2 separate regions of the Homo sapiens genome follow, and region 1 is linked to region 2. Evidence: promoter capture Hi-C in 16 types of primary human blood cells and fetal thymus (Javierre and others, 2016). All regions are on one chromosome and are shown on one strand. Each heading gives the region's core, a stretch centred on a gene start or on the middle of the fragment in contact. The rest is flanking DNA. Distances are from core to core; before and after follow the strand shown. Region 1 overlaps COL5A1 (collagen type V alpha 1 chain). Region 2 holds the start of LINC02907 (long intergenic non-protein coding RNA 2907).

Region 1 (3,847 bases), core at 1-2,500, 570 kb after region 2:
TAAGAAGACCCAAGTCTCGTTGCCTCAATTAAATGGTTCGTGTGTGACTTTTAAGTTTTTATTAGCTGTCCAATTGGGTTTGATGCCTTTGCAGACAGCCTATCCTAGCAGACAGCCTATCCTAGCAGCAAGTGAGTGGGAGGGCGCAAAGTTCCCCTTGAGGGAGGCTTTGAGGAAGTCCAGGCACCTGCGGGACCTCACCCGCTGCTCCAGCTGGGAGGGGACGTGCTTGGCCACCACGCCGCCTTCCGGAAACAAGGCTCATGGCGCCAGCACCTCAGAGTGGCCGGGCTGGACCTGAACAGAGCCAACTAGAGGGTGTCCTGGTCCAGGGTGGCCAGGAGGGGTTCTTTGTGGCCCTTTATTACACTTTCTATCAGCCACAGACACCTTTCTGTGAAGGACCTAGTGGGTGGATCTGCAGGGGGGCCGAGAGCCCGGCTCTGGACCGGGCAGACCCAGCCCCGGCTGCTCGAGGAAGCCCCCAGGCCTCTCCACGTGGTCATTTCCTCAGTTCCAGGCTGGAGATAACAGCACATCTGCACACAGCGCCGCTGCGGAGACGCACAGAGCGTTTGCAAGGGGCTCAGAACTGCGCCCACCCAGGGAGCACCAAGCAGAGTTAGCGGCCGGCATCACGGCGGCCTCCATTCCCATCCAGGCCAAATTCCTTTAGGTATATTTTCAGTTACAGATAGAGAATGAGAGTAAAGCAGTGGGGGGAAGCACAAAGCTCCCTTACTAAAAAATGTTTGAACAGGAAAAGGCAGAAAGGAAACGTAACAAGATAACCACGACTGATTTTCCTGCAAAGCCGGGCAGGGCCGCTTTCCCCTTTCTTTCTACTTGTGTGTGTTTCCCAATATTCTATAATGAGCAGTGCTTCTGTAATGGGAAAATAATAAAGCTTACATTATTTGTATTTGATATTTTCTGATTAAAAAAGTAACGTATGTTCATCATAGACAATTAGGCAACTGGAAGAGGAATTAAAATCCTTCATCACCTCACCACTCGGAGTGGCTGTGGCTAATTGTATGATAGAATCATCTGTCGTCTCTGCAGATATGCATGCGCCCTTGGCATGGTAGATCTATTTTTAATTTAATATTACATTGTGAGCATTTTTCTCATGTCACGGAGTATTTGTCTAAATTCAATTCTTACTGGCTCTGTAATATTCCACTGAGCCATAATTCACTTAACCATTTCCCCAGCGTGTGATACCAGGAATATATTCCACTGAGCCATAATTCACTTAGCCATTTCCCCAGCGTGTGCTATCAGGATTTATTCAACAACATATTTCTAGGCACTGAGTCTGCTCTGAAGTGCCTCATACCTCTTGATGGATTTTAAGGCAATCTTCCTTTCTTTGAAACCAAAACCAAAACAAGAAAAAAAGAAAACTCTCTCTGTAGGGTTTACCCTCAATGTGCTGCCTTTGCAAAGGAGAATTTTTAAACATCTTTTCTTTCCTCCAGATTTTCGTGGGAGATGGCTGGGGCTGTCTTTGGGCCTACCCTTTGCTTCCTTTTGCTCGAAGCACCTTCATGTGAATGGGGTCCACCTACGCTCACATTTTAAGCTTTAAATTCGGGCTGGGGAAGGGACACCTTAAAGGCCTTTCCTTCCCCCAAAGAATATAAAAGGAAACTGCAGGCTCTTTAGGGACCCCAATTCTTTGGAGGTTTCAACATGGGGAGGGGAATTCCAGGGAGAACAAGTTAGGTCAGCTGAGGGCCGAGAGAATGATCTTGGCAGGAAGGTGGGGTGCAGCCCCCTTCACACCCAGGCCCCCTTCCTCCCCGCAGAAGGAAAGAGGGGTGCAGCCACCTTCACACCCAGGCCCCCTTCCTCCCCGCAGAAGGAAAGAGGGGTACAGCCCACTTCACACCCAGGCCCCCCTTCCTCGTGTGGCCTGCTTCACACCCAGGTCCCCTTCCTCCCCGCAGGGCTCTGGGCCCAGCCACTGTCCCCACAGATTGCGGCCCATACTCCATGGACACCACAGCCAGCAGCACGGGAACAGAAAACTAGCCTGGAAGGACACACGTCCACCCGCTGTCAATGGCTAAATCAGGAGATGAGATCAAAGGTGGCTATAATTTTACTGTAATTTTATTTATTTTCCTAATTTTCTATAACAAGATGTGCTGTTCTGATCATTAGAAAGGGCAATGAAATATAAATGTAAATTAAAGGACACAACACATTGGAAAAGATGAACCACTCAGTATGCAAACTCCCATGTGGCCAGGTGACCACGGGGCCCCACAGCTGCGCGCGTGGGGATGAGAAGGCTCCACTCTGCTTCTTCTGACCAAGAAAGGGCAGTTTGTGATGTGGGAGTCACTGGGCCAACTGACTCGGCCTGAGGGATGCTGTGTGGTGAGCAGTCACCGATAATCATCAACATATTTAACTTCCTTGTTTAGTTTTTAACAGTGTTATTAAAACCATAAAGCATACTGCATCTTCAATAATTAATTCTGCTAATCTCGTTTGTGAAACAGACTCAGCATTAACGGAATAATCAAAACCAAAACCACAGCAGGCACTTACAGAGGGTGTGGGTGCAAATCAGCTCACACTCATGTACACGCACGTGTGCACGCACGCACGCATTCTGAGTGTGTTCTACTTCCTCACACCTCCCCCCTCCACACAGCTTAGACACAGATTGGATTTGTCACCAACTCGCTATTTCCAGGCAGAATCTAATTTGGCTCCACAGCTGTGCGCGCACACACTGCAAACGCGTTTGCTCACCACCTCCCTTCTCAGTGTGTGAACACTAAAAATACACACCACGTACCCTGCCTCTTCGCTTCCAACCCTGGGGACGCAAGCGATGGCCTGGAGCCCGGCCCAGCCCTCCTCACGGCTCAGCACGCAGGCCTGACTTCCGGTAATTAATCAGCACAACCTAATAAATAGCTAATATTCCTACTCGCGCAATCGCCACTCGTTGATTAAAATCCATGATGTTAAGGGTGTCCAGAACCCAAGAATGACCGAGCAGTCCAACTGGAGACCAAACGGGTCTTCATCAACAGAGCCAGAATGAGTCAATGCCGTCCAACAACAACCCCAAAGAGCCTGGGCCTGCAGCCCTATCCGCAGGGTGGAGGTGGGGAGAGTATGGAGGGATGAGGTGGGCAGGGCTACTCACCGGGGGTCCGTCAGCACCGGGCATTCCTGGAAGGCCTGGTTTCCCCAAGGGACCCTAGAACAAACCAGAGACTCCATGAGGAGATGCCCTCCCTAGGCTCACCTGACCTCTCCGTCGGCCACCAAGGTTACTTTTCAACATTTCTGCCCACACAGCATTTGCTGAGAAGTGTGGTCAGAGGCACTGGGTCCCTGGCTGTGAGGCGTGCAGCCACGGTAGCGCCCAGGAGGAGGCGGCTCCACTGTTCTCAGCACCTTCAGGTTCTGCTGTAGGAACGGAATCAGTCCACCAAGTGCCCCCATTCTTCTCCACATCCACCTGCTGCATACTGGGGCCCGGGGGGGCATCATCTGGCCTCCTCTGCTCTTACAGTGCTGTGCCTTCTTCAAGTGCTCCCACCACCCTGTCCTCCCTGGTCTGTTCACATCAACACCCCAGGGCAGGGCAGGGCATCCTGCAGTGCAAGGCCCACAGCCTCAGTATCCCATAAACAGCAGCTCCTGGAAGGTCCCAGGCCTGGCAGCAGCCCAGCCCTCTGTGTTTCTCAGGCCCCCCGGGGATTCTCATGCACTCAGAACCAGCCCCTTGGAGGTGTTTTTGCTGATCGCAACCAAGGCACTTGGAGCTACCTGAACTATCTTGTGCCTGGTTAAGCGACAAGCTCTAGAAGGG
Region 2 (4,370 bases), core at 939-3,438:
CCTCTAGCCTGAGAAGCCCAGGTCTTCCAGGCAGATGGTTGTGTGAGTTTCTCTCTCCCAGGACCAGGCAGACGCAGCATAGAAGCCCTGATCCGTCTGTTCCTAACCCAGCAAGTGACACACAATAGCCTCTCTGTGTGGCCCTGAGTGGAGATGAGATTCAAAAAGAAAAAAGCAGCTTTCAACTTCCTCTACGTGAAAGGTCATCGCCCCCTCCCCACGTGGGGGTGTCAGGCGATGAGGGAGCCTGGGAGCCCAAGCAGGCTCTCGACAGACAGCTGTCTCTCGCATGTGATGGTGCCGCCGTCTTTCTCACCAGCAGCACGACGCTGCAGGCTCTAGGGGCTGTGGGTAGAGACAGACGGCCTGTGCCCTTTACATCCTTCCAGCCAAGCCCGCTGCTGTACTCCAGATGCGGGCCTTGTTTGCCCTCCCCGCGTATCTCTGAGGTCCCCACGAATTGCTGTGTGGCATGAATGTGAGATCCCTGCCATGGTATCCAAAAGGCAAGCCTCTACTTACAGGAGGGATGAAGGCCCTGAGGGGTGGTGGGTGTCCCATCCCCCTGAGAGTTGGGGGTGCAGAGGGCCCCTCTGCACCTGACCTGCCACCTGGTGGTCACTGTGGTGAGAAAGGGGTCCTGGGACTTCAGGCCTGGGGTTTTGGGGTGAAGATGTCTTGTCTAGAGGCACCAGCTGCCCACAGCCCTGCAGCCACCCTGGCCGAGAGCAGATGATCCAGCGAGTCCTCAGGGGAACATTATCCTCTTTGCAAAATAACTGTGGAATTAGAGCTTGATGTGGGCTTAGCGGGTGCCCTGCAGTGTCTCAGTTCATTCCTACCCAGCAAAGTGGCTGACGTGAGAGCGGGGTCTGCACCGACAGCAGGACCTCCCTGTTCACCTGCTCCCGAGACCACCAGGGAGCCATGCTGTGGCTGTGGCTGAGGCTGAGGGTGGGGCAAGAACCCAAATGCACACAAACCTGCATCATCCGTCCAGCACTGGATCCCAGGGTCTCTCTAGACATTTTAAAAGATCTTTAAAAACAGGGAAGAAAGAAACCAACCCCATTGGGGCGGTGGCGGCTCCCTTAAACTTTCAGCGACTGCCATGAGAACAGAGATTTCGGTGGCTCCAAAGAACACAGGCTTATATTCCTTTGCTTTTCTTGAGGTTCTTATGCCGGAAAGATGCAGGTGTTGCCTGCCCTCTTGCCCTGTGAGGCTGTTCCTCAGCCGCCAGCCCAGGACTGGGCGTCCGGCCGTTCTGTCCACGCTGCAGCCCTGCTGTCCGCTAGATGGCGCTGCGTCATGCCCGTGGCGGGCCTGTCTGGAACCCAGGAAGGCCTGGCGGAGTTCCAGGAGGGTCTCTGGAGACCCAGGCGTCAGCACAGTGGCGGGGACGAGTCCCCTCCCTGGAGGGTGTGAGATCCCCTCATTGCCGGGCTCTGGGCACCCAGAGCACAGATTTTGTTCGCTCACTGCTGGAGAAGCATAGCCTGCCTGGGAAATGCCCCCTCCCCTCTGTGGAGCCGGGAGGTATGCATGCAGGCATGTGTGTGTGTACACGTGTGTGCACACGCCTGTGCCTGTGTGTGCCTTGTGCATTCTGTGCAAGGATGTGTGTGCATGCGCATGCATGCATGCACACACCTGCACACACTCCTGTGGCCGTGTGCTCTTGTGCATATGTGGGGGTTCTGTGTGTGTGTCTGGGGACAGGGAGGTATAGGAGGCAGCTCCCTTTAGCCCATTGGAGGCTAGCCCTGTGTATGTGCTGGACTCCAAGATGACAAAGACCTGCCCAGGTCTCAGCCTCAGCCTGTAACTGCTCTGAGCCTCCATTTACTCATCTGTAAAATTGAGATGCCCCAGTTACCTCCCAGGTGTGATGAGGCCCCATGGAGACCATGGGGCGAGAGGGCCCTCCCCACAGGCATGACGCAAAGTGACATCGATACACACCTGTGTTGTGGTCACGCACCTCCAGCAGCGGCCACAGGAAGGACACTGAGGTCTGCCCTGGGCTGAGGCCCATGGCATCCTGTTCATCATGGGGGTGCCACGGAATCCCCCATCCCACAGGGGAGGAGACGCAAGCTGAGAGGCGAAGCCACAAGCCTGACTCTGAGCCCAGGCTGTCGTCCCGGGCCGCGGTGCCCACACTGCCACTCAGCCCTGGCTGGAGATGCAGTGCTGAGGTGGGCAGGTGGCTCCACCAGCCCCATGAGGCTCAGTGGGACCTGGTGGAGGGTGGCACTGGCCTTGGAGAAGACTTGAGCCCAGCCTCTCTGTGCTGGCAGCTGGGAATGCTGAGAGGCAGGAGGAAGCTGGGGGGCACTTCCTGAGCCCCCACTGCATGGGGACAAAACCCAGGGATCCCTCCCCAGGCAGAGACCCCACCGGGCTCGATCACCAGACTTCTGGCTGTCAGCTGGCACAGAGGCCCAGCAGGGACAACCCCGGAGGAGGGGAATGTGTCATTGGGAGCCTGGGCAGCCATCAACTAGTCCTGGCCTAAACGTGGAGCACCTGGTGCCCGGCCCTTTGGCAGGGCCTTCCTTGGGGACAGAGGTGACTGCTGGTGCCTGGACCCAGGAAGCTCCCCCATCTCCCCAGGCCACCAGAGGCCCCGAGTCACTCCCGGGTGAAAACACAAATCCAGGCTGGGGCAGCTGACAGGTGGTTCCCAGGGAGGAACTGAGGGGTTGAGGGGCAGGAGAGGTGGGAGCTGGACACAGTGACTTCTGGGGCATCAGGCCTCGGCCATCTCCGAAGGAGGGCTCCCGGGAGGTGCACGTGGACAAGATTTCTGGACGAGATCAGGCTGCTTACCCGTCTGCCAAGGCCCTGCAGCTTGGGTGTCTTTGCGAACCTGTCAGTAATTGGGGTTGTGTCCAACAGCCTGTGCCAGGCTCCTTGGCGGGGCAGTCCTTGCAGCAGTCCTTGAAGGTCACCTCGAGAGCCAAGGCTGGGCAAAGCGATGGATCCATCAGGTGCAGGGGGAATGGTGTCTGGGGCCCACAAAGGTCACGATGTGGCCCCGCAGGTGCCAATGAGGGAGCCAGGGTCCAGCCACCTGTGCTTGCCAGCTGGGTGCCCTGGTACCAGGGGACGAGCTCCTTCTTGGTTTGCACAAAGGCTGGTGGGCCCCGTCCAGGAGCTGCTGCCCAACAGTGTGCTCTCGGATCCCTAGGACACGGGGGCCCCAGCTGCATGCTGTGCTCAGCCCCATCGGACACTGGGAGCCCCCTTCTATGGAACCAGAGCTCCCGAGGGGATGCTAGAAAAGTGTGGAGCTCTTTTCCTGGGCGCTGAGCCCCCTGTCCATGGTAGGAAAGAGGACAGTATTAGTGATGGGGATGCAGGGACACCTGTGGCTTCAGAGCATCAGCTTGGAGTGTCTGATTTAGTCATGAGACAGCCTCACCTGGGGAGAACTTTCTTCCCATTTTACAGAGGGGTAAATAGAGGCTGCTGTGGCGCCCTGCCCAGGAGCCCTGGCTGCTTCGAGGCTGAGGAAAGCAGGGAGGTGAGCAGCTCGGGGCCTGCCCTGCAGGTGCACCCGGACCCTGGGTGGGCCCTGCCACCCCGCACGCCTTCCCCAGAGCCCTCTGAGCCTTGGCCGGTGGGCGGACGGAGAAGGTTCTGAGGGGAGGAGTCTGGAAAGAGGGAGGGGCTTTGTGAGGGACCACAGGGGAAGTGGGGCTGAGCCTCTGCTGTCCTCAGCCTCTGCTGTCCTCAGCTGGGTCTCCCACCAGGTCCCTTCCACCCGCTGTGGCCTTGGCGTCCTTCTTGCTTGGGCCCCATGGGTCAGCTGTGGGTGCCTGGACACCCATAAGTGGCCATCCTGCCTGGGTCCCTGGACCTCTTGCCACCTCTCCCATCCCCACACACCTGCCACCATGCCAGCAGCCACTTTCTAGAGCCTTCCGTAGCAAATGAGTTCCTTCATCTCAAATTAGGTGCAGGGGGAATGGTGAGGCTTTCTATAAAAGCCTCTCTGCTGATGACGGCTTCCTGCACAAACAGACCTCCACTAGGGACTGGAGCGACAACCTCTCCCCGCTGAGCGCAGCCGGCGCGTCTCCCGTGGAGCCCACGTCTCCTGGGAACAGCCTCCTCCTCTGACAGACAGGGCCACAGAGCCAACTTGTTACAGTTTGCAGAGAGCCCGCTGCCCTCTGCCGCAGCTCAGTTGGGTGGGTGCCTGGGCCCCGGGCCACCCCTCTGGTGCTGGTCCTTGGCTCCTCTTTTTGCAAAATAGAAAGGAATTTCCAGAATCTCAGCAAAACTACACCGCAGCTTGGACTGTGGATTTGGGGTCTGTGCAAAGCACCCTATCCCTTTCTTGGGGCAGTCAGGCTGGA

The links. Contacts are between HindIII fragments. The CHiCAGO score rates a contact against its expected background, and 5 or more counts as called.
Region 1: a fragment that was not itself captured here is called in contact with the fragment with the promoter of LINC02907 in region 2 in 1 of 17 cell types (monocytes); the score reaches 5.3 in monocytes.

Annotation. Positions count from the first base shown.
Region 1 is chr9:134,767,792-134,771,638 of GRCh38, reverse strand. It overlaps COL5A1 (collagen type V alpha 1 chain), which reads right to left. Exons shown (of 66, transcript NM_000093.5): 25 at 3,176-3,229. It overlaps LOC124902301 (a long non-coding RNA gene), which reads left to right. Exons shown (of 2, transcript XR_007061843.1): 2 at 1-1,010. Among named protein-coding and RNA genes, the nearest start is that of MIR3689C, 80 kb to the left of the region's middle. The HindIII fragment of the contact is 681 bases long and covers 910-1,590 here.
Region 2 is chr9:135,341,067-135,345,436 of GRCh38, reverse strand. It overlaps LINC02907 (long intergenic non-protein coding RNA 2907), which reads right to left and starts at 2,188. Exons shown (of 3, transcript NR_171012.1): 1 at 1,966-2,188; 2 at 984-1,415; 3 at 1-143. RefSeq lists an enhancer at 2,435-3,147. The HindIII fragment of the contact is 15,144 bases long and covers 1-4,370 here.